Linked DNA regions of Homo sapiens: regions 1, 2, 4, 5, 6 and 7 are each linked to region 3. Evidence: promoter capture Hi-C in 16 types of primary human blood cells and fetal thymus (Javierre and others, 2016). All regions are on one chromosome and are shown on one strand. The core of a region is centred on a gene start or on the middle of the fragment in contact, and the rest is flanking DNA. Distances in the headings are between cores, read along the strand shown.

Evidence for each region. Contacts are between HindIII fragments. The CHiCAGO score rates a contact against its expected background, and 5 or more counts as called.
Region 1: a fragment that was not itself captured here is called in contact with the fragment with the promoter of AGK in region 3 in 4 of 17 cell types (M2 macrophages, endothelial precursors, M0 macrophages and 1 more); the score reaches 8.0 in M2 macrophages.
Region 2: the fragment with the promoter of ADCK2 here is called in contact with the fragment with the promoter of AGK in region 3 in 3 of 17 cell types (endothelial precursors, M0 macrophages and naive CD8 T cells); the score reaches 7.1 in endothelial precursors.
Region 4: a fragment that was not itself captured here is called in contact with the fragment with the promoter of AGK in region 3 in 1 of 17 cell types (endothelial precursors); the score reaches 5.3 in endothelial precursors.
Region 5: a fragment that was not itself captured here is called in contact with the fragment with the promoter of AGK in region 3 in 2 of 17 cell types (total CD4 T cells and M2 macrophages); the score reaches 5.7 in total CD4 T cells.
Region 6: a fragment that was not itself captured here is called in contact with the fragment with the promoter of AGK in region 3 in 1 of 17 cell types (M2 macrophages); the score reaches 5.0 in M2 macrophages.
Region 7: a contact is called between a fragment that was not itself captured here and the fragment with the promoter of AGK in region 3, in 1 of 17 cell types (M2 macrophages). The highest score is 5.3, in M2 macrophages.

Annotation. Positions count from the first base shown.
Region 1 is chr7:140,785,003-140,789,061 of GRCh38, forward strand. It overlaps BRAF (B-Raf proto-oncogene, serine/threonine kinase), which reads right to left. Exons shown (of 18, transcript NM_004333.6): 9 at 2,546-2,582. Among named protein-coding and RNA genes, the nearest start is that of NDUFB2-AS1, 90 kb to the left of the region's middle. The HindIII fragment of the contact is 2,255 bases long and covers 1,192-3,446 here.
Region 2 is chr7:140,671,104-140,675,025 of GRCh38, forward strand. It overlaps ADCK2 (aarF domain containing kinase 2), which reads left to right and starts at 1,842. Exons shown (of 8, transcript NM_052853.4): 1 at 1,842-3,160; 2 at 3,508-3,654. The coding sequence starts at 2,228. RefSeq lists a silencer at 1,777-2,236. The HindIII fragment of the contact is 25,667 bases long and covers 1-3,922 here.
Region 3 is chr7:141,549,836-141,554,023 of GRCh38, forward strand. AGK (acylglycerol kinase) reads left to right here and starts at 1,575. Exons shown (of 16, transcript NM_018238.4): 1 at 1,575-1,599. It overlaps AGK-DT (AGK divergent transcript), which reads right to left and starts at 1,509. Exons shown (of 6, transcript NR_183408.1): 1 at 1,309-1,509. RefSeq lists silencers at 1,370-1,459, 1,640-1,819. The HindIII fragment of the contact is 2,342 bases long and covers 1-2,277 here.
Region 4 is chr7:140,737,914-140,741,787 of GRCh38, forward strand. BRAF (B-Raf proto-oncogene, serine/threonine kinase) reads right to left here. Exons shown (of 18, transcript NM_004333.6): 17 at 1,899-2,033. Among named protein-coding and RNA genes, the nearest start is that of NDUFB2-AS1, 43 kb to the left of the region's middle. The HindIII fragment of the contact is 700 bases long and covers 1,186-1,885 here.
Region 5 is chr7:140,802,632-140,806,571 of GRCh38, forward strand. All of the region lies in intron 5 of BRAF (B-Raf proto-oncogene, serine/threonine kinase), which reads right to left. Among named protein-coding and RNA genes, the nearest start is that of NDUFB2-AS1, 110 kb to the left of the region's middle. The HindIII fragment of the contact is 4,127 bases long and covers 1-3,320 here.
Region 6 is chr7:140,862,872-140,866,829 of GRCh38, forward strand. All of the region lies in intron 1 of BRAF (B-Raf proto-oncogene, serine/threonine kinase), which reads right to left. Among named protein-coding and RNA genes, the nearest start is that of BRAF, 60 kb to the right of the region's middle. RefSeq lists a silencer at 2,744-2,944. The HindIII fragment of the contact is 3,965 bases long and covers 1-3,701 here.
Region 7 is chr7:140,915,597-140,919,784 of GRCh38, forward strand. The region is part of intron 1 of BRAF (B-Raf proto-oncogene, serine/threonine kinase); the gene reads right to left. Among named protein-coding and RNA genes, the nearest start is that of BRAF, 7.2 kb to the right of the region's middle. The HindIII fragment of the contact is 8,965 bases long and covers 1-4,188 here.

The DNA of each region.
Region 1 (4,059 bases), core at 1,069-3,568, 760 kb before region 3:
TGGGAGAATGAAATTATACTGTAAACTTTCTTCTATTAGGACATAATTAAAAGGATAAATTCTCAAATTTCTGAAGTACACTGAAATATCTAAAATATGTTATAAATCTTTTTTTTGTCTTTTTTAACAGCTCCCTACCTTTGACAAAAATATACACATCCCATATTGGGGGAAAGAAAAACCCAAAAAACACTGCTAGTATTACAGAATCTGAAAAAAGGCCAAAAGCCTAATAAAATCTCATAATAGAAGTTTCCATTGACACTTTAATTTTCTTAAAAACCACAAAATTAACAAATATTAAGTCATCAAGAATAATCACTTAAATGCATTAAAATCAAAGGAATCCAGTAAGCTCTTCCCCACCCACCTTATTTATTCCCACCCACTAAGTTTAAGAAATTATCAAGACCAAGAAGTAATAAAATAACGAAAAAACAAGATGGAAATCTCAGGTCAGGATTTTCTTGCTTTTAAAAATTTATGACAGACAGCATACAGAAAGCTTGTGGCAGTGAGTACGTGTGAGACGTACATTCAAAGCATTCCAGCCAGGCCAAACAGAAATTTAGTACTGAAAACTTTCACACTTACAAACACACGCTGTGAGGGTGAGGCACAAACAGCATCTGTAGTTTTATATTTAGTTTGCTTTGGGTGAAAACAAGAAAGAAGAGCCCAACTACCTCTGAACACTGGGCCAGGCTCAAAATCAAACACTATTTCACTGGGGACAGAATGTAGGAGGGGACTGGGAGTCCGGGATTGGTATTTCCGAAGACAGCGCATCAGCTGGTTCAAAGGGGCTGTTAGAAGAGAAAGAGAGGGGCAGGCAAACACAGGAAGACAGACACACAGAAGAAATGAAAGAAGTCATGGGGAATAAACAAGATGAATTGAAGCCTGTTTCATAAAATAATTCTGGACCAAAAATCTGCTTATTTTCATAAAATCCCAATGATTTTTTAAAAAGTGACTCATGAAAAGGACAAGAAATGCCACTTGCTTTTAGGTACTAAGCAGGCTGTGTTTATGACTAAGTTAATTTTGTGATGCTAACATGATGGCAACATTTAAATGCTGGATGTATTAGGCAAAATTATCAAAAGCCACAGCTATTAAGACATACGAAAGTCAAACTGGCAGCAACATTAATTGGCAGGTTCATGAAATAACAAACAGGAAAAAAAAAGCTTGTGTAACTATGTGCTAACATCAATACCAAGTCCAGAGTATAGAATGCAGGCTTATTATTATTTTGGTTGCTTCATGGGTATACAGAAACATAACAAAAGAAGGTTTATAACAATGTTTACTCAATGTAAAATATTGTTGAGTCTGGGCTTAGATATTTTGAAGATAAAGAAGGTCACAGTGAAGAGGTCAACTCTAAGCATGATAAGCAGTTATTACAGGTCTTCCTTACTAGGCAGAAGACAACAGGGAAGGTAAGTGTAAAGGACCTCCTGGAAGAACACTTCAAGACAGTCTCAAATATCACCTCTTATAAAACATTATATAGGGTAATGCTTACAAAAAGTATTTTCTTAAGCAATGTTGTCTTATGTGCTAGAGTGAATACTAGATGAAAATTCAGTTGGAAATCTCAATTCAGTTTCTCATTTGTGTATTTACTGACCTAAGAAGAGGACAAATGGGCTTTGCCATTATGGGTCTGTTCTATAAAATGTACATTTAAAACACTTCCAGAAAGTTGAAGGAAGTGGTTGATAATGTCTGACAAACCCCCTCTTCAGAATGATTTAGCAAAGTTAAGTTTTATCTGATTCTAAGGTCAATCTTTAAGTATCAGTGGAGCCCCACAAAGGAAATTTATCAACAATAGCTTTCAAGATGGTTAGAAATTAATAAAGCGGGTATAAAAATTAAGGATCTTTCCTTGGTAAGATATTTTAAAACTGTAGTCTACGGCCATACCATCCTGAACGTGTCCGATCTTGTCTGATCCTGGAAGAAATTTTAAAACTGTAGATAATACATTTTAAGACTTCCTTTTGGCCGGGCGCGGTGGCTCACGCCTGTAATCCCAGCACTTTGGGAGGCCGAGGCGGGCGGATCACGAGGTCAGGAGATCGAGACCATCCTGGCTAACACGGTGAAACCCCGTCTCTACTAAAAATACAAAAAATTAGCCGGGCGTGGTAGCAGGCGCCTGTAGTCCCAGCTACTCGGGAGGCTGAGGCAGGAGAATGGCGTGAACCCGGGAGGCGGAGCTTGCAGTGAGCCGAGATCGCGCCACTGCACTCCAACCTGGGCGACAGAGCGAGACTCCGTCTCAAAAAAAAAAAAAAAAAAAAAAAAGACTTCCTTTTATGTCCAGTCATCTTTTCTACTCATGTTATAAACTAGTTAACATTTTATTAGAGGTAAATGACAAACACTACAGAAAAACAAAAAAATTTTGGGTTTCTCTACACATTTTTCTCTGTGTCTGTTACTTGAAAGAGGCAAGTATAAAGGAAATAAGCAGCAAAGCAATTGCAGTTTCCTTGAGTTTTTAAAAAAACCTGAAATCACTACTTACCTCCATCACCACGAAATCCTTGGTCTCTAATCAAGTCCTACAAATAAATAGTAATGTATATTTATTCCAAGCAAGCATATAATCAGAGAGTAGCGATAACACTGAATTTTCCACTAACGTTAAAAGAATTATTTTATTAATTAAAACAATACATCTTATAACTATTACACAAAACAATTTGGAATTATCTAGTGAACATAATACAATCTAAATTTTGAAGCACTTGCCAATGTAAACCTATAATGAAACAATTATTAGTCCTAATCAAATGTTGATGTCCATTTCAGGCCATTCAAAACCAATGGCTTCCATTATCCTCAACAATCTAATGCAGGAGCAGAAAACCAAATACTGTGTTTTCTCACTTATAAGTGGGAGCTGAATGATAAGAACAAGTGGACACATGGGGGAAACAACACATACTGGGGCCTGTTGGAGGGTGGATGGTAAAAGGAGGAAGAGCAACAGAAAGAATAACTAATGGATGCTGTGCTTCATACCGAGGTAATGGGATAATCTGTGTGGCAAACCGCTGTGGCACATGTTGACCTACGTAACAACCCTGCACATCCTGCACATGTACCCCTGAACTTTGGAAATAAATAAATTTTTAAAAAATGGCTTCATCAATCCTTAAAAAAAATTATACTGGTGCACATTAAGAGAGATAAAAATGTTCATATCCTTTGATTCTGTAATTCTACTTCTGGGAACTTTTCTTAAGGAAATAATTCAGAAGAAAAAGTGATATGCACAAAGATGTTTAGTGCAACATTATCCATCATACTAAAAAGTTATAAATAATTATTTCTCTATTATAGGCATTTTGACATATTTTGGTTAAGAAAATTATGGTGTATCAATTTAATGAAGTATTATGCAGCTACCAAAATAATTATGAAGCTTGAATCATGAAACATGTTTATAGTATAATTTAAAAATATAAAATTAAAAGTACACTGGTTACAATCATAAAAATATGGATGGATAAGGGCACACTAGAAGAGGAAAGAAACAAAGTGGCTCATAGAAAGGTTTTGTTAAAATTTGTCCTTTTTTTTGAGACTCAGTTGCTCTGTCGCCCAGGCTGGAGTGCAGTGGCGTGATCTTGGCTTATTGCAACCTCTGCCTCTTGGGTTCAAGTGATCCTCCTGCCTCAGCCTCCTGAATACCTGGGACTACAAGCACGCACCACCATGCCTGGCTAATTTTTGTATTTTTAGTAGAGACGGGGTTTCACCATGTTGGCCAGGCTGGTCTTGAACTCCTGACCTCAGGTGATCCGTCCACCTCAGCCTCCCAAAGTGCTGGGATTACATGCATAAGCCGCCGCAACCGGCCACTAAAATTTGTCTTTATTATTAAAATATAGCTCTTTATGCGCCGGGTGCGGTGGCTCAAGCCTGTAATACCAGCACTTTGGGAGGCTGAGGCTGGTGGATCACGAGGTTAGGAGTTTGAGACCAGCCTGGTCAACATGGTGAAACACCATCTCTACTAAAAATACAAAAATT
Region 2 (3,922 bases), core at 592-3,091, 880 kb before region 3:
TTTTTTTTTGACAGAGTCTCCCTCTGTCGCCCAGGCTGGAGTGCAGTGGTGCCATCCTGGCTCACTGCAACCTCTGCCTCCTGGGTTCAAGCCATTCTCCTGCCTCAGCCTCCTGAATAATCTGGGACTACAGGCATGCACCATCACACCCAGCTAATTTTTGTATTTTTAGTAGAGATGGGATTTTACCACATTGGCCAGGCTGGTCTCGAATGCCTGACCTCAAGTGATCCCCCCGCCTCGGCCTCCCAAAGTGCTGGGATTACAGGTGTGAGCCACCGTGCCCGGTCATTTCTTGCATGGCTTTGCCACACTTTGAAACTGCACATTTTGATTTCTTATCATGGGTGTTTTTTTAAAAAAAATTGAAATTGCACATTTATATGTTCCCATGTTGGGTCCCCCTCATTACGTATTCAGCCAGTAAGGGCAGGATATTTGTGTCCGCTTTCCCAGGGTCCAGCACATGACCTAGCTTGATCAGTACATATTATTGAGCCTCGACAAATATGAGATTGGGCTCAAGAAATATTTATTGGGCTCAGTGAGTATTATTGAATGAATGAATATGGCCTTTCCGGAGCCTTTCCCCAAGGTCCAACACAATTGCCGAATTAATGCAGCCGAGGACACAGCATCCAGTTCCTACTCCTGCAGCCCAGTTACCCCCATCCAACACCACCCCCCTACCCAACCCCCGCTGAAAAGCGGACCTGTGTTCAGAACCTGCCTTCATACTTTTCAGCCATGCTCTTTGGAATAATGAAAGATACGAAGAAGTCAGTGGGAAGATAGACATGGGGAGGGGGACATAGAGGGTGCCTTTGCGTTTTGCTACCCAGGACCCAGGACTCAAGGGCAGGGTGGTCTTGGCCTGGGGTCGCCGTCCTCTTTAAGGGGCGGGTCAAGGGACCCTGGCTGCCCGGGCCTCTGCCACCGACCCTCTGCTCCCTCCGACCCTCACCGCCCAGCACCCAGCCCTCTGCCCCCACCGGCCACCCTGTAACAGCCCAGCGGGTTCACCTTGCCTGCTGCCTAGACAGAGCCGATTTATCAAGACAGGGGCATTGCAATAGAGAAGGAGTAATTCACACAGATCAGGCTGCGCGGGACACTGGGCAGAGTTTTTAAGGACAACTTGGTGGGTGGGGGAAGGCCAGTGAGTCGAGAGTGCTGATTGGTTGGGTCGGAGGTGAAATCTTAGGGAACTGAAGCTGTCCTCTTGTGCTGAGTTAGTTCCGGAGTGGGGGCCTAAGATCAGATGACCTGGTTTATCGATCTGGTAGGTGTCAGTTGATCCATCAAGTGCAGGGTCTGCAAAATATCTTGAGCACTGATCTTATTAGCAGTTTAGGGAGGGTCAGAATACTGTAGCCTTGCTGCCTGACTCCTAAATCATACTTTCTAATCTTTTGGTTAATTTGTTAGTCCTACAAAGACAGTCTATTCCCCAGGCAAGAAGGAGGTTTGTTTTCAGAAAGGGCTGTTATCATCTTTGTTTTAAACTATAAAGTATAAACTAAGTTCCTCCCAAAGTTAGTTCAGCCAACGCCCAGGAATGAACAAGGACAGCTTGGAGGTTAGAAGCAAGATGGAGTTGGTTAGGTCAGATCTCTTTCATTATCTGTTATAATTTTGCAATGGCGGTTTCAACCTAGTGGCCGAACCCGTCCCATCCATCTCCCGCGCCCCTCCGCTCCACCACAGCCCTCGGTGCCTCGGTTCCCTGCACCTGCACTCCCGCCCGCCCCCGACGCTCCGCCCCCGACGCTCCGCCCGCCCTCCACGCTCCGCCCCGCCCTCCCGGCCCCCGCCTGCGCCCGCGCCCTGGGCTGGTGCCCGCCACCCCAGCGATCTCATACTGGCCCCTGGGCGCACGGTGACCCTGCGGCTGCCCGGCCCCTGCCTCCGCCCGCGCGGCCCCCTCGCTCAGGTCGCGGGCGCCCGGGGCCTGGCTTCGCGTGGGTCCTGGCTCCTCCCGTTCCGCAGTTGGTGCCGTCTGACAGCCCCTTCCGCGCGGCGCGGCGCGGCGCGGCGGGTGTCGGGCGGGGCGCGGGCCTCCGGCCTGAGGCCCGGCGAGGTGCTGGAGGGAGCGGGGCGCGGATCCGGCCCAGATGGGCAGCTCCGTCCGCGGGGTCAGGGCCGGGCTTCGGCTTCACCGCAGCCTCGCCTGAGCGGGCGCCTCTGAAGTGGAGGGCGGGCCGCCTGGGCCGCGGGCCTCGGGAGGATGGTGGCGCCCTGGCGCGTCTCCGTCAGGGTTTGCCTGTCGCACCTGAGGTGCTTCGAGCTCAGACAGGGACTCAGCCTCCTGAGGCCCTCCGAGTGCCCTCGCGATGCCAGGCTCTGCTGGCTTCTGCTGGGCACTTTGCCCAAGGTCGTCTCCCTGTGCGGGGACGTGGGTGAGGGGGCCCCTGACGTTCTGAGTCGGCGAAGGGTCCGCTGCAGCGGGGCGGCTGGCGCGGGGCCCGCGGAGAGCCTCCCCCGAGCGGGACCTCTGGGCGGCGTCTTCCTGCATCTCCGCCTCTGGCTTCGCGCCGGCGCTCTGTTGGTGAAATTCTTCCCCCTCCTACTCCTCTACCCCCTCACCTACCTGGCTCCCAGCGTCTCCACCCTCTGGCTCCACCTGCTTCTGAAAGCCACCGAGACCTCAGGCCCAACCTACATCAAACTGGGCCAGTGGGCCAGCACCCGGCGCGATCTGTTTTCGGAGGCTTTCTGTGCCCAATTTTCCAAGCTGCATGTCCGAGTGACGCCCCACCCGTGGACTCACACTGAGCGCTTCCTTCGGCAGGCTTTTGGGGATGACTGGGGGAGCATCCTCTCTTTTGAGAACCGGGAACCTGTGGGCTCAGGCTGCGTGGCCCAGGTGTACAAAGCATACGCCAACACTGCCTTCCTGGAGACTGACAGCGTCCAGAGACTTGGCAGGGCCTCCTGTCTGCCGCCCTTCTCACATACTGGGGCAGTCGGTGGGCTGAGAGAGCTCTTTGGATACCTTGGAAATGGCCGGAAACCTCCAGAAAATCTCGCAGACCAGTCGTTTCTAGAAAGGCTGCTCCTCCCTAAAGCTGACCTGGTTGGATCAAATGCAGGGGTGTCTCGGGCTCAGGTCCCTGGCCACCAACCTGAGGCCACCAACCTCATCTCCGTGGCAGTGAAAGTAAGTGTTGTGAGAGCTCACAGCTCACCTACCCACTGAGCTATCCCAGATCAGAAACAACCGCCATGCAAATCGCCCCCACGTTTATTTCTATTTGCCTGACCAATATCTGAGTGCTTATTTCATGCAAGCTGTTTCATTTATTGGCTTGAAGTGGCGGTGTGAATAGTCTGATAGAGGAAAATGAACTGAGTCTGGAGTGAACTAACTGCTTGGGTGTCGGGACCACATCCTCTTTTCTTTGATAAGAAGCCACCTGGCTCTTGCTTGGATGGTGGGACCCAGCCCTGGCTGGGTAAAATGTGTCCAGCAGGTTTCTCCTGTCTCACGGTTCCTCTTTCTGACAGGTGTTGCACCCTGGCCTGCTCGCTCAGGTGCATATGGACCTGCTGCTGATGAAGATTGGCAGCCGAGTCCTGGGAGTTTTGCCAGGCATCAAGTGGCTTAGCTTGCCTGAGATTGTGGAGGAATTTGAGAAGCTGATGGTCCAACAGGTGAGTTCTCCTCCCCTCAGCTGTAAATAGCACCTAACATAGTTCTTGCCATTAGCTGCTACTTAGTAAATGTTGAATGAATAATTTTCTGGTATGTCATAACTCATGTGATGTGTTAGAGCTGGTAACACTAGCTGATAAAGAACATCCAAATCTCAGTGGCTTAATGCAACAAATTAATTTTTTGCTTATATCAAAGTTCTGGCCGGGCGTGGTGGCTCATGTGTGTAATCCTAGGACTTTGGGAGGCTCAGGCAGGTGGATCACT
Region 3 (4,188 bases), core at 325-2,824:
ATACCCTATGACAACATTTTAGAGCTAGAAGGGTTTTTTTTTAATAGTAATGTTCTCAGTCCCCTAGTTTACAGATGGAGACTCAGGAGAGAGGGCTAGAAATTTCTTGCTACTAAACAGTGTGGCCCAATGGATTGGTGCACCCTGGCATAAGGAATATGTTTACTGCACCATAGCCTCATTGAAGGTCCCCGCCCCGGCCTTTTTTTTTTGAAGCATTCACCTAGGGAGACATAGGTAGGATGCATGTCTACACGTAGGAAATGTGCAGACTAGATAGCAAGCTCCATGGGGCAGGAACCATGAAGGGCCTTGTACCTGAGCATACCCCCAGTGCCTGATGCAGGGCCTAGTGCACACTCAAATGTTGGTTGACTGGCCGGGTGCGATGGCTCATGCCTATAATCGTAGCACTTTGGGAGGCCAAGGCGGGCAGATCGCTTGAGGTCAGGAGTTCGAGACCAGCCTGGCCAACGTGACAAAACCCCCGTCTTTACTAAAAATACAAAAAAATTTAGCTGGGCCTGGTGGCACACACCTGTAATCCCAGTTACTCGGGAGGCTGAGGCACAAGAATTGCTTGAACCCGGGAAGCAGAGGCTGCAGTGAGCTGAGATTGCACCACTGCACTAGCGCCTGAGCCACAGAGTGAGACCCTGTCTAAAAAAAAAAAAAAGTTGGCAGACTGAATGCTGGAAAGAAGAAGGACCTGGCTTTGTCCCCACACCAATCTGGTGGGCGAGTACAGAATGTAAACTGTCTGGAGGTTGGCATTGGCCTAGCTTCTCCGTTGCTCTCTTGTTCTCTAGAATCCAATCAAGCACCTGTGGCCAGAGAGCTGTGTGAAATGGAAACCAGTCCCACCAGCCCCTGATTGCACCCCCGCAATGTCTTCTCGCCCTGTTTAATGTCATGTCCAAACTCCTGGCCGCCGTGGCCTGTCTCCACCTCTCCAGCTTCCTCGCTTGGCCTGTCTCCTTAGCTCTCTCTGTCTCACCCACACTGGCCTGCAACTCGCCAGAGTGCCCCAGGCTTTTCAGCTTTTGCACGGGCCCTTCCCTCTCCAGGCTCTCTCCCCTGGATCTTTGCTTCAGCTGCTCCTTCTTGACATCCAGGTCTCAGACCAATGGCCCCTTACTCAGAAGGCCTAGCGCAGGCCGCCTAATTTCACACAGTTCTCCCCCTTCCCGCACTGCCTTCCATCACCTCGTTTCATTTTCTTCGTGGCACGGAGCACCATCTCCAATGGCCTTGTTCATTTAGTTAATTTATTTTCCGACTTAGTTCCAGGTGCTAAAACAGTGTTACCTTGGCAGGCTTCCCATCAAATATTGTTGCGCAAAGGATGGATGGATGAAAGGAAGAGTGAGCCAATAAACGAGGGAACGCCGGGAAAGGCAGCCTCAAGCCGGTGGGCCCTGCCACCCCCACCGTCCCTGAGCATCCGAGCCGGTTCCCGCCCCCGGCCCGAACTGGCCCGCGCGCGCTCGCAGCCCCGCGGCGGAACCCGAGGGCGGCGGCAGCGGTTTCCCTTGAACGAGCCGGGGAATCTGGAGGGAGCACACAGGAAAGGCAGAGCCGCGAGCTGGACCAGCCGTGGTGAGTGCAGCGGCGCCCAGGCGGGGAGCGCAGTGCGGGTCGCTGGGACTGAGCGCGCGAGCGGGGTGGGAGTCGGGATGGGGGCCCGGGGCGCTGGGCGGAGCCTCTGGAGTCGCGCTGGGCCGAGAGCCGCGGGGACCCAAGCATCAGGGGTCGTGGGTGCAGGCGGCGGCGCGGCTTGAGGGTAGGGGGTGCGGGCCTGGCCGGCGCGGCAGGGGAGGGCCTCGCGCGGATCCCGTGGTCACGGCGGGAGTCAGCTGTCCTGGGTTCGAGTCCCAGAGCTGTCGCTAACTTGTGGACCCCCCTCACTTCGTCCCTTGGGCTTCAGCATAGCCCTTTGCAAAATGGGGCCAATAGTATCAGATCCATTGATGGGTTGGTTGGTTCATTCATTCTGGCGCTTTACTAGGTTCTGGTGCTGCAGATGGATAGACGAACTTGCCCATGAGGGGTTCACTATCTAGTAAGAAAAACATTTCCACCTGGATACTCCACAGGCGTGTCAAATTCAGTATCTCCTAAACCGCACTACTTTTCTCCACAAACCTACCACTCAAATCTAAATGACTGAAATCACTATTCAACCAGTCACCCAAGCACAAAAACCTGGCTTGGTTCCTCCTCTCTCACTTACTACAGTCAATGGACCACCAACTGCTGCCAATTTCTACTTTCTAAAGCTTTCCAAATCCATCCTTTATCTTGGTTTGTTCTTTTAGGAGCCTACAGATTATGGCAATAACTTCCTAATGGTTCTCTTTAGCTTTAATTTTAGCTTCTTCCAGTTCATTTTTCATTCTGCTATAAAGTGGTCTTTTAACAGTTCAAATATGATTATATCACTCACCTGCTTAAAGCCCATTAAAGGTTTTTCATTGTCTTCAAAATAATAGCCAAAGTCCTTAGTGTGGGTTCAAGGTCTTTTCTAATCCCACCTGGTCTTCAATCCTTTATCTCTAAACCACTGTTTCTCAAAGTCTGGTATAGTGGTGACCTCCATTGCAACCAACATGGGAGTACTTGTTAACAAGTGAAGATGACAGCTTAATTCCAGAACAAATGAGACTCTTGCGGGAAGGGGCAGTTCCCAGGATTCTGTGTTTTTAACAAGTTCTGCACTAAAGGTTGAGAACCCCTGTTCTAGACACTCCAATTTTTACTCCGCTGTTGATGAGATTCAGGACACACTGCCGCAAAATATGACTCGTTGGCATTAGAGGAAACAACTGAAGCAGGAAAGTCACTTTGTGTCTTCCCACTTTTCTCCCCTGAAGCAGGCCATAAAAGAATTGTTTGACCTTCTTCTGTATAAGACCCTTCAGTGAGAGGTGCTCATCCTGTAAGTATAGGATCGAGGAAAGGAATGCCCTTATCTTTGAAGACACAGGTACACAGAGAAGAATCAGAACAAATAGGCCTTGCTAAATTCTCCCCAGCGTATTACTGTTAGATCATACCCCCTTTTTCCAGTCTCAGCCATGAACCTAATTCTCCCCTCAACTATCTACGTATGTTTCTCTCAACACACTTTACTGTCTTTTATGCCTTTGTACACTCTCAGTTTGGGCTACTGTAAAAAAAAAATAGCAAAAACTGGGTGGCTTAAACAACAGAAATTTAATTCTCACAGTTCCGGAGGCTGGAAGTCCAAAGTTAAGGTGCCAGCATGGTTGAGTGCATGGTGATAGCTCTCTTCCTCGGTTTGTAGAGATCTGTCTTCTTGCTGTATCCTCACAATGCAGAGAGACCATCTCTGTAGTGTCTAGTCTCATAAGGACACTAATCCCTTTCATGGGAGCCACTCTTATGACCCAATTATCTCCCGAAGGCTCTATCTCCTAATACCATCTCAATGGGGATAGGGCTTCCACATCACCATTTTTGGGGAACACAGCATTCAGACAATAGCATCCACAAAACTCCTTCGTTACTTTAGTGATTTCCTCCTCATTATTCAAGGCTCAGGGAAGACTTCATTGACTGTGCACCACCCCCTCAGCCCTAGACCAGGTTAGGTTCATTCTTGCAGACTCTCACAAAGCCTTGTGCTGACTCCTCGACATTTATCCCACTGTACTGCAATCATAATTGTATAATTGTGTTAGCATTGTGGGTTTGACAGTTGTGAGCACTTGAGAGAACGCATGAGACCCATTCTTCTCTGCCCTCACCCCCAGCACAGAGCCTACCATATAGGTGTTTATTAAAGGGCTCTTGAATGAAGGAGTGATTTAGGGCCAGATGGAGAGGAGTTCAAGAATTAGTTGGGCCTTTGGAATCATGTGTCAGCCTGACGGTGTATGGGATTCACAGGAAGATGGTCTCCCTGGCACTGGCTTCACTGCTGCTTTTGATAAGGATGTTTCTACCCTTGAGAGGAATTTTAACCAATGGGATTTAAAGGGAGTCATAAAAGAACTGGACTTTTAAGTGGAAACAGTTTTTTTTTTCTTGGTCTATATACCTCACTAACAGATAGTCATAAAAAAATTTTGCTTAAATTTTTGTTTATCTAGAAAATAAGTTCATTTTCAAAAACTTAGAAAGTACATTGCAATTTTAAAAATAAACATCACCCACCATTCCACA
Region 4 (3,874 bases), core at 286-2,785, 810 kb before region 3:
GTATGGAGCTAAGCATTTTGCCCCTTTTAATATCATTTAAAAAGTGGGCCTAAGGATGTACTTTGCATTATTAATGTCAATAAACATTCTAAGTAAGAACCCGAGCACCATGACGTGAAAAGAGAACATGGGACAGGGTCATGCTGAAGCTGCTCAGCAGCACTTGTCTCTCACCAGGACAGTCTCAACCCAGAGGTTTCCTGACTTAGAGAAACAAATAAAAAAATAAAAAGAAAAAATAAAAACTCTTCCTCAAAGGAACAGTAACTTTGAAACCTGATAAATGAAACTTATATCTACCCAGCCAACCACTTAGCTTTCCCTTTCTTTTCTTAGGCAACACCCTGACAGACTTGTTAAAACCATCAATTTTATCTTCTTTCATTCTTTAGAGAAGAATAACATTTTTTAGATTTAAAAATAAAGGATGAGTGAATCTAATTCCTGTAACATTGACTTCTGTCTGAGTTACTCAGCTAGGACTGGGCATTCAAAGGCCTAAGAGTTCATACATGAACACTCCAGTAATTATGGTAGCAGGGTTACTATGGGAAATAGCACTTCCCACTTGAAACTGTACTGATTCATCAAGGCATATTTATCCAGTGCTATCAGGAGCTCCCTAAGTATCAGAAAACATTGCATTTATATTATAATATCTACTACAGCTAAACTCTGTAAGCTAGTTGAGGTATTTAGATATTTTTGTTTTGTTTTGTTTTAAACAGAGTCTCATTCTGTTGCCCTGGCTGGAATGCAGTGGTGTCATCTCAGCTCATTACAATCTCCACCTCCTGGGTTCAAGCGATTCTCATGTCTCAGCCTCCTGAGTGGCTGGGATTACAGGCTCCTGCCACTATGCCCAGCTAATTTTTGTATTTTTAGTAGAGACGGTTTTCACCATGTTGGCCAGGCTGGTCTCGAACTCCTGACCTCAACTGATCTGCCTGCCTTGGCCTCCCAAAGTGTTGAGATTTGTAAGCCACGACACCTGGCCTTAGTTACAGTTCTTTTTGAAATTTGTTAACTTAAGGCTTTATCCTTCCAATATGGAAAAAAAAAAAAAAAAGCAGTGAGTTATCAAGAATTAGGTAAAGGCAGGCTGAGCTGACAAATGCCTTACTGCCTTTTCCTTTTTCTGCATCAGGCAGAAATGCCCCTCAAAAAGACCCAGTATTAAAGGAAAGCTTGAATCTGTTTACCACCAAGAAGAAATAAAGCAGTGGTTCACAAAATGTGGTCCGTGGACCACCAGGGGATCCACGAGGTCAAAACTATTTTTGTAATAACAATAAGATATCATTTGCCTTTTTTACTGTCATTATTTTACAAGCGTTAAGTAGAGTTTTTAGGGGTGACATGATGTGAGATATTGCAATGTGAGTGCAAAAGCGGAGAATCCAGCTGTCTTCTTTTTGCAAAGGGATTTGCAAAAAAAGTAAAACAATACAACTCCTCACTAATTTTTTTCTCTTAGATAATAGAACTGTTTTTTTCTAAATATTATTTAACATATTGGTTTACTATGTTTAATTCATTAATATTTTAAAAAATAGTTTTAATTTCTAATAAGGAATTAAAACTTATATAAACAAAAGCTCTTTGTGGGGGGGGGGGTCTTCGATAATTTTTAAATGTGTAAAAGAGTTCAAAGACTGAGAAGTCTGAGAACTGATGGACAAATGCAAAGTCTTTCTGAATATTTTGTATTAGGACCCAAAATTTCTAGGTGTGCCACTGCTCAACCCTCATGAAGCCATCTTAATGTGTTTTCTTGTCTGGAGTCTGCACATAGAATCCAAACTCATGAAATACACACTGTGTGCCCAAAAAAGTGCTCAGAAATCTGTCTATGAATGTTAGTCTGTTCTTTTGGATAGCATGAAGCTTTTACTTACTTGGGGAAAGAGTGGTCTCTCATCTCTTTTCTTTTTGAGGCACTCTGCCATTAATCTCTTCATGGCTTTTGGACAGTTACTCCGTACCTTACTGAGATCTGGAGACAGGTATCCTCGTCCCACCATAAAAATTATCTGGAGAGAGAAAAAAAAGGGAAATAATTCAACCTTGTAGATAAGTTGAAAAATATACTTCACACTCATTGAAAACACAATAAGCTGTACATTTACAGCTTACGATGTATGTATTACACCTCAATAAAAAGTTTTAAAAAACCAATGCCACATCATAGATGGTGGGAAACCCACAAAAGGAGTGCAAGCTCAAATCTTCATGATCCTTGGACTGTGGCAAAGGTTCTCTAATTGCTCCCCTGCTTTTGGTCTCTCTTTATCCAGTCCATTTTCCCACTCACAGGGTAACCATCTAAAACAGATCTGACAGTGCCTCTTCTTTACTTTAAAAAAAAAAAAAATTTATTCAGCACTTCTTGTTGTTGGACGTTGTGTTAAGTCCTCTATATATGTGTAGGGAAAACCAAAAAGGTTAACATTTTAGCAGTCGTTTTGGCATCTGCATCTTAAGCCCTTTTATTGTGGAAACGCTAATGGGCCACTTGGTTATACAAACCAGAGCCTCCGCCAGAGGAGAGAAGGGGAAGCCATTAGGAGCTAAAATCTGTTTAACGAAATAAAAAGGCTTGTCTTCCCTGGATTCAGAGATTTATAATTTTTTCTAATTTCTTAATTTCCTAATATTTTGCCTCTTTTGAGGGCAGGCAGGGATAGATGTTAGGAGTCTTGGGACTCAGGGAGGACAGCCTGAGAGAAGGGCTTTTGGTCTTAGAGGGAATAGGTGCAACAGGGGGAGAGTAGAGGCTAAAGTGGAGAAAGCCCATAAAAGATCCCTGCTACAGGGCAGAGCTGATGAATTTTAGAAACCGCCAAGCTTGATACATTGTGTTATTTCCTGTTTGGTGCTGTAATGACCCTTGTTTAACTGCCAGGCATTAGTAAAGCTTTGATTGCAATGTGGCCTCTATGTAGTAGAGGTTAAAGGATGAACCTTGGAAAGAGTTACTGAATTGAGGGGATTACAGTTTTCTTTCACAATGCCCCCTACTGAAGCTACACCATCATAACATCATCATTTTAATGGAAGACAGCAGTCTTAGAATTTTGGGAGCAACCTGGAATAATATGTTGGAGCAACAAGTGACAAGCAACAGCCAGGAGAATGTAAAGCACTTCAAACAGGGGTCTTCAAAGTTGAGAGAAAGGATCTGGAGTTCCTATAGTCATATATTATGGACAGCAATTCAGGTATTCTTACTTGGCTATCAGTGGAAAAGGTGGCCCTGAAAGGCCAAAAAACGTTGGGACACTTGGATTCTAGATATCATCTAATACTCAAAAAAGAATTCTACAAGGTTGGTGTTGACTCTGTTTTACAGATAAGGAATCCAATGCTCAAATAAATTAAGTAACTTGCCCGAGATAATACAGTTAAGTAAGTAACAGGATTTGTAGAGAAGACTATCCCAATACAAAGCTACTTTTAACTTTTTTATTGCCGCTGCTCCTACTCTGCTTATAATGCCCTCCCTCACCCTTCTCTAGCTACCTGAAACCCAGATGATCAGGCCTAACTGAAAGGTAACCATGCTTATCATACCTTTCTTTACACACCTAGAAGTAATAATGGTCCTTCTTCCCACCACTAGCTGTGATGATCATTTACTGCCTTGTATGGTTATTAATCTTTTTGTGATATGTATCTTATCTAAGTTCTCCAATGAGACTATGGGTGCTCAGGCAGAGAGATTGTGACTCATACATACATATTTTAAAAAAATTCTTAAAGAAGCCAGGCGTGGTGACTCACGCCTGTAATCCCAGCACTTTGGGAGGCTGAGGAGGGTGGATCATGAGGTCTAGGAGTTCAAGACCAGCCTGGCCAAGATGATGAAACCCCG
Region 5 (3,940 bases), core at 7-2,506, 750 kb before region 3:
TAAAAAAGAAAAATTAAAAATTTTTAAAATAGAAGTTTATAGAATAAGCACATAAAATATTTTTGTATAGCTATATAATGTTTTTAAACTTTTGAAACTGTTATTTCAAGAGTCAAAAAGTTAAAAAAAATTAAACCTTAGTTTAATGTAAATTTTTTACTTTATAAACTTTTTAAAAAGAAAAATTTTAAAACTGTACTGTAGCCTAAGTGTACAATGTTTATCATAAAAGTCTACAGTAACAAATAGTAATGTCCTACGCCTTCACATTCACTCACCACTCACTCACCAGAGCAATTTCCAGTCCTAAAAGCTCTGTTCATATTAGGTATCCTACACAGGTAGACCATTTTTGATCTTTTATACTGTATTTTTACTGTACCTTTTCTACGTTTAGATACACAAACTTGCCACTGTGTTAAGGTTACCTACAGCATTCAGTTCAGTAACATTCCGTGCAGGTTATTAGCTTAGAAGCAATAGGCTCTACCATATAGCCTAGTTGTATAGTTAGGCTATACCATGTAGGCTTGTGTAAGCACATAACAAAATCACCATTGATGCATTTCTCAGAACATATCCCAGTCATCAGGCAATGTGTAACTGTATTTAGTAAGATGAAAATAATCACCAAAAGAGCTTAAAACAGAAACCATTAAAAATTAACAGTGAATTCCTCCAGAGTGGAATTGGGGGTGGGAGGGAGAGAGACTATAAATACAATCTACATAATAGCTAAAACAAAAACAAAAACAAAATAGCTGACAGAATCAGAACCCCTGATCTATGGTCCAAAAACATAATGGTTAACTTTGGATAAAAATGTAAAAACAATTATTTATAAAACTAGTAAGTAATCATATGAAAATTGAAACAGCTCTTCCTAATCTTACTAAAAAAAATAAGAAACAGAAAAATCACCTAAAAGACAATAAGATCTATTTTTTCTAACAAATGATCAATTTCTTAGAGGATTAGAATGTTTGGGCCACATAAACTTATTTGTGAACACTTCTCTAGGTGAAACTTAGAAGGCAACATGTTAAGAATTCCATGTCAAAGGCAAATGATGTAGAACATGAGTCACGTAACAGAACTGCACTAGGAAGAATCTATCCCACTAAAGCCAGAAATTGCTTAAAATATATTTATTTAGTGTATATAATAATAAGAAAATATAAGAATAAATATCAAAATGTGAGTGGCTACTTCAGAGTGGCGAGAGCATGGGTGACTTCTATTTCATTATTTGTTCTTTGCTCTGTATTCTTGAGATGGAGTCTCGCTCTGTCGCCCAGGTTGGAGTACAGTGGCAGGATCTCGGCCCACTGCAACCTCTGCCTCCTGGTTTCAAGTGATTCTCCTGCCTCAGCCTCCCAAGTAGCTGGGGACTACAGGCATGCACCACCATGCCTAGCTAACGTTTGTATTTTTTGGTGGAGATGGAGTTTCACCATGTTGGCCAGGCTGGTCTCAAACTCCTGACCTCAAGTGATCCGCCTGCCTCGTCTTCCCAGAGTGTTACAGACATGAGCCACCACACTCGGCCTCTATATTCTTAATTCATTTCAGTTTTTCAGAGATTTTTTTTTTGAGACAGAGTCTCACTGTCACCCAGGCCGGAGTGCAGTGGCACGATCTCGGCTCACTACAACCTCCACCTCCTGGATTCAAGCGATTTTCCTGCCTCAGCCTCCCGAGCAGCTAGGACTATAGGCGCACACCATCACACCTGGCTAATTTTTGTATTTTTAGTAGAGACAGGTTTTTTTTTTGGGGGGGGTGGTTAATACTTTTAATTACATGATTGTAATTATACAATTTCCACTCTTCAATATTTTGTATAAAACCAGTTACAACTCACAAGATTTTCAAATGAGACAGGATTTTACCAGGCTGGCCAGGCTGGTCTTGAACTCCTGACCTCGTGAGCTGCCCACCTTAGCCTCCCAAAGTGCTGGGATTACAGGCGTGAGCCACTGTGCCCAGTTTTTCAGAGTTTTAATCACAAATAATGATATTTTACATTATGACTCCATATATAACTGTATTCATACAACACTACTTACCCTGACTATATACAACATGAATTAGAACTTCCTAATCTATTCTGCTACATGTAAATTTTTTTATGATACATTAAATAGATTTCAACATCAAAAGTCTACTTTTCTTTTTCTTTTCTTTTTTTTTTGATAGGGTCTTGCTCTGTTGCCCAGGCTGGAGTATGGTGGCACAATCATGACTCACTGCAAAGTCTGCCTCCCAGGCTCAAGTTATCCTCCCACCTCAGGCTGAATAGCCAAGGCTATTGGTGCACACCACCATGCCCACCTACTTTTTGTATTTTTTTGGAGAGATGAGGTTTTGTCATGTTACCCAGGCTGGTCTTGAACTCTTGGGCTCAAGTGATCTGCCTGCCTCGGCCTCTCAAGGGATTAGAGGCATGAGCCACTGTGCCCAGCCAAAAGTCCATTTTCAATACACATTTATTTACACATTCTGTTCCATTAAGAATAGAAAGTTATTGAAAATATTTCAAGAAAATTACATCCTGATATATAATACATTCTGGCTTTTTGAGGACATTTAGTTTTAAAAGTGACTCTTATTTTCTTCACCTTTTTTCCTATGTATCACTTTCTAGGGGATATAAAACAGGTAAATGTCTATTTCTAATTGTGTTCTTTTTCCATTTGTCTCTGGATATACAAGAAATTTTAAAATCTTTAAAATTTTTTATGTGGCCATTATTCACCAAACCAAGTAGGTAGGTGACCAAAACAGCTGAAGGAAAGAAAACATGTGGATATGCATTTGATCATAAATTTTAAGCAATATATGCCTGTATCTGTAAGTATACCTTTGTCAATAAAGATGAGCACAGGAAGATATATCTTTCTTTTGGGTCACAGCTTACACTTAATCTAGTATCTGAGTATACATAAATATGTATGGCAAATTAGTGAGAGGCACAGTCAAGGTAATTTGCATGCATTAATTTGTAAGGTGTGGGGCTGTGTGAAGGAAGACACTGAGTGTCTGCAGAAAAAGGAGAAGGTTTGGATATAAAAGTTTCAAATCTTGTTTTCCCACTTCCCAGTTCCCAAGGACTCTTGGGATATAGAGAAATACTGAAGGGATTGCTTTTATAATATGAAACCATGAGGCATAAGCAGCCCTCCTTGAATAGCCAAGCAAAACCCAAGACAGCCAAGAACACTTTTCCTTTCTAAGCAGAACATAGGTTTTTGATCTTGCCTCTATATGGCACTCAGAGCAATCATTCTAACACACAAATCTAATCACATTTCTCCCCAAGCTTACAACTATTACATTTCTAATTATTTTACAGAAAAATCCAAATCTTTAATATGGCTAACAAGGATTTTCATGAGCTGGACTCTGCTTATTCTACCCACAACTCTTATTCTACCCACAATACTGTTAACAACCTACTCTTCAACCTTGTATCATCCATTCTGAACTTCTTTCAAAACTTTGAAAGGTAACATGCTTTCTTGCTCTTCCCTCTGTTTAGGGTACTCTTTACTTGATACTTACTTCCTCATCCATCAGGCCTAAGCTTAGATATTTCTGTCTCTGAGAAACCTTCCTAACTCCTCAAAAGCCAGGTTAGGAATCTCTGTGCATCTATAGAACTTTATACATATATAGTAATTATGAATGTTTATGAAAATTTATTAAATCTTCTCTCTACTCTATGGCAGTGACACTGTCTTATTCATTTGTCATATCCCTAGGTAAGATATGGTATTGGCAAATGGAAAGTTCTCAATAAAAATTTACTGGCAGGTATCCAACTGAGTGGTGACAATTTCCATACTCTGGAATCAATCTGCAGTTTGCTTTCACAATCCTTCTGTGGCAAGGACCTTCCTGAGGCATCATTTTAATACTATTTTCTCACACTTAGCAA
Region 6 (3,958 bases), core at 469-2,968, 690 kb before region 3:
CTCAATAAAACTGTTATTTTTTAAAAGATAGTAGAATAATGTTTTCACTGTCTGGGCAAAAATGACTGTGAATCTGGAATTTTACATCCAGGCAAACTACCAGTCAAGCATGAGGGCAAATGAAAACCTTTTTGGACATGTTAAGTTCTCAAAAAATTTACTTCAATAGGAATCATCCATCTGAAAACATTTCTATCTTTTGACCTAGCAATTCCACTTCTAAGAATTTTACCAATCTCTCACAAAATTGGAAAAAAGGAGTAGGCCTCTCGTCCCAGCATTTATAAAGATAAAACAAATGATTCACCAGGTTAAAAAAAAAAACTGATTTTTTAAGGCACTATTTTTACATATAACAAAACAAACACAAAACTGACGTAAATAAGTTGGTCCCAAAACAATAGAAAGTAAAAGGAAATACACCCCACAAAAAGCCATGTTTCCAACTAGAAAGTTAAAGATAGTGACTGTGGCTATATGGTAAGCAAGGGGAGAGTAGAAACAAGATGGGTATCAGAAAAATTAGGCAATATGCCAGGTTATGAAGGATCCTGAAAGCCACGGTAAGTAGAGTTTTAATTTTATTCTAAGAGCAATGAGAATCTAAAGTTTCAAAAACAGGTATGTGTGACATAATCTGATTTATATTTTACTAACAATTTACTTCTGATATGGTTTGAATCTGTGTCCCCACCCAATCTCATGTCAAATTGTAATCCCCAATGTTGGAGGTGGGGCCTGGTTGGAGGTGACTAGATCATGGGGGTGGATCTTTCATGAATGGTTTAGCACCATCCTCTTGATGCTGTCCTTTTGATGAGTGAGTTCTCAAAAGATCTGATTGTTTACAAGTGTGTAGCACCTCCCCCTACCCCTTGCTCCTGCCATGTAAGACGCACCTGCTCCTGCTTTGCCTTCTGCCATGACTGTAAGTTTCCTGAGGCCTCCCCAGAAGGTGAGCAGATGCCAGTATCATGCTTTCTGTAGAGCCTGCAGAACCGTGAGCCAATTAAACCTCTTTTCTTTATAAACTACCCAGTCTCAGGTATTCCTTTATAGCAATCAGAGAACAGATAAATATACCATCCCATTTTATAGACGAGCACATTGTGGCATAAGTGTTAAGTATATTGCTCAAGGCCACTCAGCTAGTAAATTCTAGACAATATAACTCTAGAGCAGTATATATTATAGTACCTCTAATTATCACTCTAGTGAAGAATGGATTACGGTGCGCCAAGAATGAATGCAGGGAGGAAGACTAGTTGAAACTATGATTGTGTTAAGCAACCATAGTTAAGCAAGAGATGATTGCTTGGGCCAAGAGTGAATGCAGGGAGGAAGACTAGTTGAAACTATGGTTGTGTTAAGCAAGAGATGATTGCTTGGACCAAGGTGAAAACAGTGGAGATAGGGCTACTGGATTAGACATGGAGGAAGAGTGAGAAAAAACTAAGAATTAAGGCTGATTCTGAAATTCTGATGTGTGCAACGGGTGGACAGTGATGCCATGAGGGAGAGAAATCAAGCATTATGTCACCAACAGGAGAGGCTTACTAAATGATCAAGAAGGCAGCTGGTTATGCAAGTTTAGAACCCTGGAGGAGAGATGAGGCTGAAGACATATTTGGGTGTCACTAGCATACTGGGAGGCAGACCTACAAGAGAGTATAGGCCAAGAAGGCTCAGCCCTGGGGATCATAAACATTTACAAGAGAAACCAAAAATGGCTGAAAAGAAAGAAACAGACACTGAGGTAGAAGGAAAAAATATTCAGTTAAGAAAATTTATTAGATAAGAATAGGAACACATAATAGTGGCTAGAAGACATTAGGAAAGGTAGGAATTGTATATCTGTACATATTTGGTCATTCCTATTTACATACATTTGCAGATGTATTGGGGCTGGGAGATAATAGAGCATGTTTGTGGCTAAAGGGAATTTAATCGAGGGGAGAAGAATGATATGGAAGACAGAGATGCAGGAAAGATGAAATCTGAGTCACAAGTAGAGAAATCAGACTGTCGGGAATGGTCTTCGATAACAAATGAAAGGAAGACAGAACAAGAGGACCAATGCAGACAAGTTTGTAGAATTGGTGGTGAAAAGATGACAAGAGCTGCATTTAATTTCTCAGTAAAGTTTGAAGTGAATTCCACAGATAGGAGTGGGAGCTGTGAGAGGTTTGCAATGAGTGGAGGAAATGAATTTTTTTTTTTTTTTCTGAGACAGAGTCTCATTCTGTTGCCCAGGCCAGAGAGCAGTAGTGCGATGTTGGTTCACCGCAGACTCCGCGTCCTGGGCTCAAACGATTCTCCTGCCTCAGCCTCCCAAGTAGCTGAGATTACAGGCACACGCCACCACACCCAGCTAATTTTTGTATTTTTAGTAGAAACGGGGTTTCACCATGTTGGCCAGCCTGGTCTTGAACTCCTGGCCTCAAGTGATCCACCTGCCTCGGCCTCCCAAAGTGCTGGGATTACACACATGAGCCACTGCGCCCAGCCAGCAAACGCATTTTTAATTGGGAAAGTGAAGAAGCAGCTGCACTGCCAGACATTGTTGATGCCCTGTTGAGGGTTTTGGTATACATTTAAAGCACTACATTCAATTGCCTAAGTGCAGGCAGGTAGCGGGCATTTTGTCAGGCCCATATGATGAAAAGAGAGAAAAATTAGAGAGCCAAAGGTATTAGTAATTTTTACAGTCATTTCATAATAGTATCTTGACCCTGAATTATGTGGACTGTGATGAAACAAATAGTATCACTTGAGAATGGTAAAACTGTAATCAGGAGCCAGACAAGTGTCTACATAGATAGAACCCTTTTAAGTCTTTTAAGGAAAAGGCTGATGATTTAGGAGTTTGATGATCATAGTTCCACAATTCCTTTGGCCTGGCAGAAGGTGAGAAGTAGAAATAGAGAAGTGATATTCATGAAATCAATAAGCAGAAACTATTCTAACTTAGAGTTTAACTTAGAAATCATCTAAAATAATCTAAAACTGAATAAGAGGATCAAACATTTTTTTCTGGCTAATTAAAAGCAGATTAAGCCCTAAAGTTTCAGGGATGGCAGGGGAAAGGAGGGGAAACAGTATCAAGAATAACTGTCCATAACGTCAAACTGTCCACAAAGTCATCCACTAAATTTACGTAACATTTACAAATTCAACAATTGCTCACAATTACTATTCAAATGGGTTTTCAGTGAAACAGATCAAATTTCTGTCACATAAAACTGAATTTTCGGAAAGGAGCTGTATTTGGAGCAGGATTTAAATTGAAGGAAAATATGTGAAACAATAGATGTAGTGTAGGTTCAGGACTTTTAATTGTAAGTATTTTTATGCACCATAACAATATACATATCATGTTTCCTGCGTTTTGGTACAACTCCTGGTCATAACTTTCTCTCACTGTAACCTGCTTTCCCAGGTTACTCTCAGTTCTCCAAAACCCTGGGACACCATTCCAGAGCACCACATCCTATCATTCCAAAATTAAAAGTCTGTGGGAAACACTGTCACAAATAAACAACTGAGGCATGACAGCCTGTTAGGACTGTGCGCTCTGTGAATTTGGAACTTACCCCACTTGATCAGTTTTACTCCTAGCACCTAAGTATACTACCTAGCATGAAGCAGGTAGTTTATAAGTGCTGGCTATATAAAATATTAAAAATTCTATATTCTGGGTAAGCTTAGAGGAGACTGATGAAATCACATTCAAGAAGGCTCACCTGAGGCTAGAGAAATAATAGTTAAGATCAGAGAAGCACTAGCCACCTTAGTCAAGATGTTATATTTTTGTTCTTTCTCAACTGGGGTTCCATGAGATACTTAAGTCTTAACGACCTAAGGCATGACCTAGTGTAAGTAATGAATTATCTTCTCTCCATGCATCTAGGATGGTACTTATAAGACTCTCAGAGAGTTAAGATGTATGCTCACTAGT
Region 7 (4,188 bases), core at 1,502-4,001, 630 kb before region 3:
GCTAATTTTTTGCATTTTTAGTAGAGACGGAGTGTCTCCATGTTGGTCAGGTTGGTCTCGAACTCCTGACCTCAGGTGATCCACCCATCCTGGCCTCCCAAAGTGCTGGGATTACAGGCATGAGCCACCGTGACCAGCCTAATTAAAGTATCTTTTAAAGATATCCACACTTCTTTACTTTTTAAAAACAGATTAATTTTGGAACAATAGTTAAAAATAGTCTGCCAAGATATTGTATTACTCTCTCCCTGGAAGTGTAGTTTCAAAATCGGCAAGGTGATGCTGGGTGCGGTGGCTCATGCCTGTAATCCCAGCACTCTGGGAAGGACTGCTTGAGCCCAGGATTTCGAGACTAGCCTGAGCAACACAGCATCTCTACCAAAACAAACAAACAAACAAACAAAAAAAACCCAAGGATTTTTTTTAAAAACTCTGCAAGGTGACCCAACAAAACTGGAACGATACTCCTTGCAACATGGTCAAAACTTAGTCAGTTTCTACCTTCGCAATTGTCACCTGACCCTCTACTAGTCAGGTATTCCACACTTCCTCTCTAGAAACATGTGTTTCCTGTTATTTTGTTTTTAAATTATTAAATGAAAATCATGATGAGAAACATCATTTTACACTGTAGGGATAATTCCCTGGGCTAACCAGTAAAAAGCTATCAGTGCAGTTTAAAACAAAGTAAAGGGGCCCTATAGGCCCCACTGAAAAAGGTAGAAATATGACCAACTACTACCATATGCCTTTCCTTAGAAGAAACATAATGATTTAATGATGCCCCTAAGATTCATAAAGATACTAACTCTGAAATATCACAGAACATGACATAGGTTTCAAATGGAAGAACTCTTCTAATGAAGATGGAGAATAACACATTGTAAACTAGTATCTTTCACAACCTAATTGACACTTTCGGTGACTTTTTTTGGTGAATAAACATCTTAACATATTCATTTTCCCCTATACACATTTTGATTACACCTCATAATGCAACACGGTAAAAAGGACGTGATTGACTTTTCTGTGCAACCTACTAAAATATGTCCTTTCTTATAAGGAAATTAATTTTGGTTGCAACTTTTACCTGTCACTTTTCATGAACCTCACCACCACATAATTCAAGACAGAGATATATTAACTATATACTGAAGTCTTAAGTATTTGGGGGTAGAAGACACCTTTGAAAACCTGAATAAAATTATGAGTCTTCTCCTTCCAAAAGTATGGTAACAAGAAATTAAAAAGTCAAAGTTCTAAAAATCTTCTCAACTGGACCTACCTGATTTTAAATTTAACTATAAAGCTATCATAACTAAGGTAGTGGGGTATTAGCCTAAGAAAACACACACAGATCAATAAAACAGTAGAATCCAAAACTCACAAACATAAGCAATTGATTTCAATAAAAGTGCCAAGGTGATTCAAAAGAAATTTGATAAATGTGAAACAACTGGACATCCATATGTAAAATAATGAATGAACCTTAACCACTGCTTCACAATTGCTGGAGTGCAATGACGCGATCTCGGCTCACTACAACCTCCCTCTCCCGGGTTCAAGTGTTTCTCCTGCCTCAGCCTCCCAGGTAGCTGGGATTGCAGGTGCCCACCACCATGCTCGGCTAATTTTTGTATTTTTAGTAGAGAGGGGGTTTCACCATGTTGGCCAGGCCAGTCTCAAACTCCTGACCTCAGGTGATCTGCCCTCCTCAGCCTCCCAAAGTGCTGAAATTACAGGTGTGAGCCACCATGCCCGGCCCCACTGATATGACTTTTATATGACTCCATTTATATGACTTTCTGGAAAGGGCACAGAGATCAGACCAGTGTTTGCCAGGGGCTGAGGGTAGAAGATGAAACTGAGTGCAAAGAGGAACTAGGAGCTGGGCTTGGTGCATGCCTGTAGTCCTAGCTACTTGGGAGGCTGAGGCTGGAAGATTGCTTGAGCCCAGAGTTCAAGTCCAGCCTGGGCAATACAGTGAAACTCCACCTCTCTCTCCCTCTCAAATAAATCAATCTAGTTTTTACAAAAGCAATTATGAACTTTCTATAGACCTCTAACCTACATCTTACTTTGAGAACCTCAAATATAACATATATAGTCTCCCTTAGACCAGGAGTCAGAACAGTTCAGCCCATGAACTGGCCCACTATCTGCTTTTGTATAGCTCACAAGCTAAGAATACTTTTTACATGTTTAAGTGGTAGAAAAAAAATCAAAAGAAGATTTTCATGACACATGAAAATGATATGAAATTCAAATTTCAGTGTCCTGAAAATGACTACTGGAACAGAGTCAAACTCATTTGTTTAAATATTGTCTATTAGCTACTTCTGAGCTACTACAGTATTGTTGAGGAATTGTGAGAGGAACTGTATGTCCCACAATGCCTAAAATATTTGCCATCTGACCCTTAAGATTGCTGACCTCTGCCTTAAGACACAAGTTGTTGAAATTTTCTACACAGATGATACCTGAGAAGATTTATGCCAGCACAAACCTCTCTTCCATACATAGTAGCTCTAAAATTTTTACAGCCATAAAACCCTTTTTTCAAGGAAACTAACATGTAAAGCAGATAAATGAAGAACTTCAATAGTTATGGTATAGGGCAGCACTCCCCAACCTTTTTGGGACCAGTGACCAATTTCATGGAAGACAATTTTTCCATGGACAGGGGTAGAGGGGGTTTCAGGATGAAATTGTTCCACCTCAGATCATCAGGCATTAGATTCTCACAAGAAGCACACAATCTAGATCCCTCACATGCACAGTTTCTGATAGGGTTCACGCTCCTGCCGCTGATCTGACAGGAGGTGGAGCTTTGGCGGTAATGCTCACTTGCCTGCCACTCACCTCCTGCGGTGTAGTCAGGTTCCTAACAGGTCACGGACTGGTAGATACGAGGCTGTGGCCCAGGGGTTGGGGGCCCCTGGTATAGAGGCACTAAACAGAGCCCTGGGGTAACCTCTGAAGAAGGTCCTTGAAACCCCAAAACAGTGTTTTTCAAACTGCCTGTTGCAGCCAATTTGGCTGTCAATTTCATAAGGTGATTTTGTGACCGGCAGAAAAAAAGAATAGAATGTTACAGAAAATCAGATCACCTCATATCCAGTAAGGTTTTATTCACTAATTCTTTCACCAAATATTTTAGTACCTATGTGCCAGGTACTATTATAGATGAAGATTTTAAAACTACAAAACAGACAAAAACAGTTTCACATATGCATTAGTGCAATTTGGAATTTTTATTCTGGCCAGGTGTGGTGGCTCACGCCTGTAATCCCAGCACTTTGGGAGGCTGAGGCGGGCAGATCACGAGGTCAGGAGATTGAGACCATCCTGGCCAACACGGTGAAACCCCGTCTCTACTAAAAATACAAAAAATTAGCTGGGCGTGGTGGCAGGCGCCTGTAGTCCCAGCTACTGGGGAGGCTGAGGCAGGAGAAAGGCAGAAAGGCGTGAACCCGGGAGGCAGAGCTTGCAGTGAGCTGAGATCGCGCCACTGCACTCCAGTCTGCGAGACAGAGCGAGACTCCGTCTCAAAAAAAAAAAAAAAAAAAATTATTATTTACAATGATAGAATGTTTTCGAAAAATTCTCCTAGAGCTCTGGCGTACTTTGAAAACCACCGTCCCACAGTACATTTGTCCCAAACGTGCTGTCAGGAACTGCAGCTACATTACAAGAATGAAAACGACGCTTTATCCGATGTTACAGAGCTTCCAGAAGATATAAAGTTAATTGAGTTCAAAGCAATTTTTATATTCTACATCACCAGGGCCCAGAAAAAGAAGTTACTGGGCATTGAGTTCCCTCTATATGCATAGTCTTGATACAGGAAGGAATTAGAATAATAGTTTTTTTTTTTAAGCCCAAGAGAAAACATGGACACAAAAATAATCTCAGAGGGTAGGGGGGAAAAATAATTGCTTAATGTTAGGGTGGAGACTGTATTAAAGAGTATCTTCTGATTACCATGCTAATTAAGTATGTTAGTGATTTAGGCTGGAAAAATTGAAATCGAAAAATAAAAACATGGCAATGAAAACAAAAAATTTAAGAAAGAAATGGAACAAATGAGGCTATATTTTTCTTCTTACACTAACATGAAGTTATCCATAACCTTATGATTTTAAAAAGCAGTACTTGACACCTTAAAAACAGAAAAGCTCCCAAATA